Linked DNA regions of Homo sapiens: region 1 is linked to region 2. Evidence: promoter capture Hi-C in 16 types of primary human blood cells and fetal thymus (Javierre and others, 2016). All regions are on one chromosome and are shown on one strand. The core of a region is centred on a gene start or on the middle of the fragment in contact, and the rest is flanking DNA. Distances in the headings are between cores, read along the strand shown.

Region 1 (3,290 bases), core at 511-3,010, 240 kb before region 2:
CATGGCCTTGGCCTATGAGCTTGTCCCGTGGACGTGGAGGGGCAGGAGGCAGAGGCCAGGTGCCTGGGGTCCTGGGGTGCTGTCCCCCACTTGGCTAAACCCACACTTCCACCTAGTTAGGCCGCCAAGTACAGGGCCTGACCCAGGCCCTCGGATGCCCCCTCCCCACCTACCTGCTTGCCCATGGGCTCGGGGTTGGTGACGGTTGTGCTGAAGAAGCCGTCCCACTCGAGCCTTCCATAGAGGCCAGCCCAGTGGTTGTGCCGGTTCCCGGTGTGGGGCAGGCACCAGGGGATGAGGGTGTTGAACTGCCTGGCTGCGGGGTCGCAGGCTTTGCCGGCTGGAAGACAGGACAGTGATGAGGCTGCAGTTGTGGGATGGGGTATAGGCTTGGGACAGTGGCTCTTAGAGCTTTGGGAGGCAGAGATGGCACCTCCTGTGCAAGGGGCCCCCTGGGGTGGAGCAGCCAACAATCCTCGTTCTCTGGGCACTGTTTTTATTATTAGTATTATATGTCTCGCTCTGTTGCCCAGGCTGGAGTGCAATGGCATGATCTTGGCTCACTGCAACCTCTGCCTATGGGGTTCAAGCGATTCTCCTGCCTCAGCCTCCCAAATAGCTGGGATTATAGGCGTGCGACACCACGCCCGGCTAATTTTTGTAGTTTTAATAGAGATGGGGTTTCACCATGTTGGGCAGGCTGATCTCGAGCTCCTGATCTCAAGTGATCTGCCTGCCTTGGCCTCCCAAAGTGCTGGGATTACAGAGGTGAGCCATCGTGCCTGACCTGCTTTTATTATTTATTTATTGTTTTTTTTTTTTCTTTTTAGAGACAGGGTCTCACTCTGTCTCCCAGGCTGGAGTGCAATGGCACAATCACAGCTCACTGTAGCCTCCTCAACCTCCCAGGCTCAAGTGATCCTCCCGCCTTGGTTTCCCAAAGTGCTGGGATTATAGGTGTGGGCCATGAACCCAGCCTGCTTTTACTACTCAACATGGTCAGCAGCTACCTTCTCTGGGACACCCAGGCTTGGTGTGTCTGTGCCCTGCCCTGGCCTCCAGGTTCACAGGCCAAAGGCCCAGGGCTCTGCCTTCCTTCCCCTCAGCCCACCGGGAACCACAACTTACAGGACCCACCTTCCACGCAGGAGCAGACCCCACGGAGGGCCCCAGAGCTGCTGCGGCCGTTCTTCCTGTCATGGTGGGTATACCGCAGCTTCCTGGCCATGGTGCCGTCTGAGAGCCGCACCTCGATGTTGGGCAGATCGCGCCAGTCTGACCCTGGGGCCAAGGGGATGTGCCGCATGCGGGCAGCCACCAATGCACTCATGTCCTGAAAGAGTGTGGGGGGCCCAGCTGTCACCTCATGTGAGCAGCATCCGAGCATCCATGGTGGGCTGGGAGCTGGGAACACCATGGTGACCAGGAAGCCCCCTGGGGCTCACGCCCATCGGGAAAGAGACAGTCAGGGATATCGCACTTGGCTCGAGGCCACGGCAGGGACCTGAGGCAGCGCAGGTGTAGGAGAGCGTGGGAATCTAAGCTGAGCCTTTAGGGTGGGGGAAGGGGAGTGGTGCCAGGGGATGGTGAAAGGGCTGGTCTTGGCATCCTGGGAAAACATGCGGGGAGAGGCAGCAAGGGGGAAGGCAGTGGTGGGTGGGCAGTGGCTTGACACCATTCCAGACCAAGTCCAGGACTGCGGGAGCTCTGACACTTCCCATGACCATGCAAGAGAGACCAGGGGTCACACAAAGGCTGAGGACTCGGGAGGAGGAGCCTGGGATCAGATTCCATGTCTCCCCTGAGTCTTGGGCAGGCTGACTGTTCCCACGAGGCTGCTGGGCTGGGCCTCGAGGAGGAGCCGCTCTGTCAGGGTGCCATTACCTTACAGATGTGGTCCCTGAGGATGGGCTGGTACTGTGCGCCCCGGAGCTGCCTCTGGAACCAGGACTGAGGCTCCCCGTTGTAGGAGATCTCCAGTGCCGAGGCTCCATTCCGCACCTCCGGCAGGTCGGACATCGTGTCTCGCACCGTGATGGTCCGGAAAGGACCCGAGCTCAACCTGCAACAGAGGAGGAGGTCAACACCTCTGGAGATGCACGCAGCAGCTGTCCCCTCATCACAGGTGCCACCCCCTGCCTGCTCAGATGGCCTTCTCCCGAGATCACAGCACTGCCCGAGGTCACATGGGTGGCAGTGTGCCTGGATGCCATCTGGAAGGGGGGATGGGGCTATGGCGTGGGCTTTGTGGATGACCACAGCCAAGCATGCGGCTGGCCGCTCTGCACATGCTATCTACTAGGGAAGCAGATGATGCAGGGTCAGAACTGGAGACCACAGGTGGCAGAGTGCCATGTGGCAGAGCACCGTGTGGCAGGGCAGATGCTGTACCATCCTCTCCTCCCCAAGCCTCACCAGGGAGTACTCACGGGCCCCATGAGCTACTGAGGCCTGCTCGGCAGTGTGTGGAGGAGCGACGGGGGCCACCTACCTGGTTATGTTGCTCACAAACTTCTTGTCATCCACCACCACGCTCAGCTGGCAGGCCCGGGGAGCAAACACGTGCAGTGGCTCCGGGAACAGAGGGAGCTTCTCTCCAGGGGCCGCGGCCAGGATGATGGCCCGCCTCCTAGTCTGGGCCACGCCGTACTGACCGGCCTGTGGGGGAGAAGGACGGACAACCCCACCGTCAGTGGGACACTCCCAACTGGACTGGCCAGACCCAGGCCCAGGGTCAGCAGCCTGAGTCGGGAGTGGCTGGCCAATGCGGAGTGCACTTGCAGAAATCCCCAGTTACCTCAGCAGGCGTGCTCCTGGTCAGAGGAGTTTGGAGCAGATAAAGAACAAAAGCAGCTGAGCCCAGGGGACAGCCACTGGGGAAGGTGGGAGCAAACCCTGCGGGGAAGTCCGGCCAGCTCTGAAAGCACTGCAAGGGCCCCAAGGTCTTAGCACTCGGGGAGAACACTGGAGACCAGGAGCCCTGTCGCTTCCCTGATGGCTGTGGTCACAAGGACAGAGAACGTGGCTGCAACAAGTCTTGTCTGGTGAGCCTGAGTCGCCCTGAGGCTGAGCTAGGGGACCGGGTAGCCAAGTGCTTGCCCACTTAGGCAGACATCCTGTGCTAGCATCTGGATAGCTGTTTCATTTTTAATTATGCCCTCAATTGCTGAGCTGATACAGAGAGGATGGGGGATGCTTTTCAGATAAGGCCTGGGCCCCACAGACTATGTCCATCCCTGTCCCTGCAGACACAGCCACCTGGAGTGCAACCCTCGGCCATCTGTGGGGGT
Region 2 (3,243 bases), core at 439-2,938:
TTGAGACAGAGTTTCACTCTTGTTGCCCAGGCTGGAGTGCAATGGTACAATCTTGCTCACCACAACCTCTGCCTCCTGGGTTTAAGTGATTCTCCTGCCTCAGCCTCCTGAGTAGCTGGCGCCTGCCACCACACCGGGCTAATTTTTGTATTTTTAGTAGAGACAGGGTTTTGCCATGTTGGCCAGGCTGGTCTTGAACCTCTGACCTCAGGTGATCCACCCGCCTCGGCCTCCCAAAGTGCTGGGATTACAGGCGTGAGCCACTGTGCCCGGCCTCTACAAGAAATTTTTAAAATTTAGCCAGGCGTGGGGGTGCACATCTGTACTCCAAGCTACTCGGGAGGCTGAAGTGGGAGGATCTCCTGAGCCCAGGAGTTGGAGGCTGCAGTGAGCAGTGATCGCACCACTGCATTCCAGCCTGGGTGACAGAGTGAGACCCTGACTCTAAAAATATAAATAAATAAATAAATAAATAAGTAATAAAAATATATAAAAAGGGCCAGGCGCGGTGGCTCATGACTGTAATCCCAGCACTTTGGGAGGCCAAGGCGGACAGATCACGAGGTCTGGAGATTGAGACCATCTTGACCAACATGGTGAAACCCCATCTCTACTAAAATACAATAAATAAATAAATAAATAAATAAATAAATAAATAAAAAGTAAAATAAAAATCTGCTCTTAACACACCTCCCCAAAATAACCAGACAGGCAGATGTGGTCAAACATACCTGAGGGTGAGTCCTGGAGCTCCCTGTGTCAACTCAAGCAAGCCACTTAGCAATTCTGGGCCTCAGTTTCCCCATCTGGAAAAGGGAGGTCCTCAGGGTGTTGCCATCAAAAGATGGTTGTAATGTTTCAATATAGTTCCGCATATTACACATTCAGCACAGACCCTGATTCAGGCACACACAAAAAGAACAAATATGACCAAAACAAGAATAACATAATTGTTATTAGTTTCATCGTGGTGATGGCCTCTTTCAGGCCACAATTCTCCTCTCCCACATTTACCCCCATGAGTGACCTCAGTCCCTGTTGACTCCCCAAAGCCTAGGAGAGTTTATGTCCAGCTCCATCCCCCCAATCCAGGGCCTGAGCCTCCTGAGGGCGCCAGTATGGAAGTGGAGGGGCTGTCACTTCCACCCATGTTGCTGGTTTCCTCATCTGGAAAATGGGCATGTAACAGTGTCTACCTCAAAAGGCTGCTGGGAGGATTTAACGCGAGGAGGCAGAGAAAGTGCCTGGTATACAGTAAGCGCTTAATTAGCCTTTGCCATTAATACCTATTCATGTTATAGATGAGATCCCGGGGATGGGGCTTTCGCGGAGCCTACTTCCTCCTTCCTCCTTTCTCGTCCCCACTGGACCCAGACCCAGCTTTGAAGACAGGGTCGGAGTGAAGTTTGCAACTGGGAAGGCTGCACGCCCCCATGTCCTCCCCCCAAAACCTCTAAACCCGGCCGGCAACGGCGGGAACTGGGATGTGCACCCACCGGGCATCGGAGCAGTCCCGAGGCACCAGGTGCTCCCATCCAAGTGCAGCCTGTCAAGCGCAGCCAGTCCCCGCGGCTTCTTCCTGAGGACCTCCGGCCGCGCTCCTTCCGCGCCCGCGTCCAGACTCACCCTTCCGGGGGAACACAAGCTCGAACCCGGACCCCTCCCCGCTCCCGCGGGTAGCTACTGCTTGTCCCCCGCCGAGACGCCTCCTCCCATTGGCCGCCTGAAACGCACACGCCCATTGGCAGCTGCTCTGTTCTCCCTGCTCGTCACCATTGGATTTTTTTTTTTTTGCCATGGTGGCGGCACTCTCATTGGTCCTGGGGCTCATTCGTCACTCAGCCGCGATTGGCTGAGTCGGCACCCAGATGCGCTGTCGCTTCTGCTATTGGCTGGCACTCGGTGGACGGAGACGGGGGAGGGGCTTGCGAGAGGCGGGAGGGAGAGCGAAGTGTGTGGGCAACGCGGCCGGATCCTGGAGTTCCCCTCCGTGCTGTGGAATTGGGTCAGGCGTGTACGGTCCTGACCCTAGGACACAGCTGCATGTCCTCACCTCGGTGTTCAAAGCTGCACCGGCCACCATTCAACCCTCCGACGCCCTGCCCTTTGGCTTCCCCGTTCCATCCGGTCCTGTCTCCTTTCCCTCGTTTCTACCTGGCCGACTCCATCCTGCTGACTAGAATTCCCCCTCCTTCACTCCTGGGAGGCATTCCTCGCCCACCTGCCCCAGTCCTCTTCCTGATCACCTGCAGCCCTGTCCTCTGAAGCTCCCTAGCGGTCAGGGTAGCAGCTTGGACATCCCGCCAGACGTGAATTCAAATCCCCACTCCGCAAGTCGTGCCCATTTGCTGAGAAGCCTACAGCCAGAGCGTTTCACATACATTATCTCATTTGATCCTAGCAGCAATTCCCTGTATGGCGGCTCTTATTATCCCCATTTCACAGAGGAAGAAACTCAGGCATGAAGAGGTAACAAAGACCGTCCTCTGACCCTTCTTCTGTGCCACACCATAACCACTCCTCGACTTTGTCTTTCACCTGCCCAGCCAAGTCTTAGCAAAGAAGCCTATTAAGTCATCCGCTCATCCTTGATGTCTGATCAACTTCCTCATCTTCCACTTTTTTTTTTTTTTTTTTTTAAGATGGAGTTTCGCTCTTGTCGCCCAGGCTGGAGTGCAATGCTGCGATCTCGGCTCACTGCAACCTCAGACTCCCGGATTCAAGCGATTCTCCTGCCTCAGCCTCCTGGGTAGCTGGGACAACAGGCGCCCGCCACCACGCCCGGCTAATTTTTGTATTTTTAGTAGAGATGGGATTTCACCATCTTGGCCAGGCTGGTCTCGAACTCCTGACCTCGTGATCCACCCTCCCAAAGCGCTGGGATTACAGGCGTGAGCCACCGCACCCGGCCCTTTTGTTGTTAATTTTTAAATTTTGTGGCTAATTTTTAAATTTTTGTAGAGATGGGGTCTGGCTATGTTGCCCAGGCTGGTCTTGAACTTCTGGCCTCAAGCAATCATCCTGCCTTGGCTTTCCAAAGTGCTGGGATTACAGATGTGAGCTAAGACACCCAGCTCCATGGAGTTGGTCTTAACTGCCATGGCCAAGGGACATGTGGCTGCTTCTCTCTGAGTCAGAAAATATGGGTAAAAAGCCTCCTCACAGGGCAGCTGTGGACATTCAGTATGAAAATGCTGAAAGAGATCGGGAATGGTCTCTTTCACACCTGTAATCCCAGCACTT

Evidence for each region. The method cuts DNA at HindIII sites, captures the fragments that hold promoters and counts their contacts. A CHiCAGO score of 5 or more calls a contact.
Region 1: a contact is called between a fragment that was not itself captured here and the fragment with the promoter of TYK2 in region 2, in 2 of 17 cell types (erythroblasts and total CD8 T cells). The highest score is 6.2, in erythroblasts.

What each region holds. Positions count from the first base shown.
Region 1 is chr19:10,135,948-10,139,237 of GRCh38, forward strand. DNMT1 (DNA methyltransferase 1) reads right to left here. Exons shown (of 41, transcript NM_001130823.3): 35 at 2,492-2,658; 36 at 1,885-2,062; 37 at 1,138-1,333; 38 at 174-340. Among named protein-coding and RNA genes, the nearest start is that of EIF3G, 18 kb to the left of the region's middle. RefSeq lists an enhancer at 1-693. The HindIII fragment of the contact is 6,913 bases long and covers 1-3,290 here.
Region 2 is chr19:10,378,884-10,382,126 of GRCh38, forward strand. TYK2 (tyrosine kinase 2) reads right to left here and starts at 1,689. Exons shown (of 25, transcript NM_003331.5): 1 at 1,497-1,689; 2 at 732-896. RefSeq lists enhancers at 1,587-1,746, 1,655-2,318. The HindIII fragment of the contact is 15,548 bases long and covers 1-3,243 here.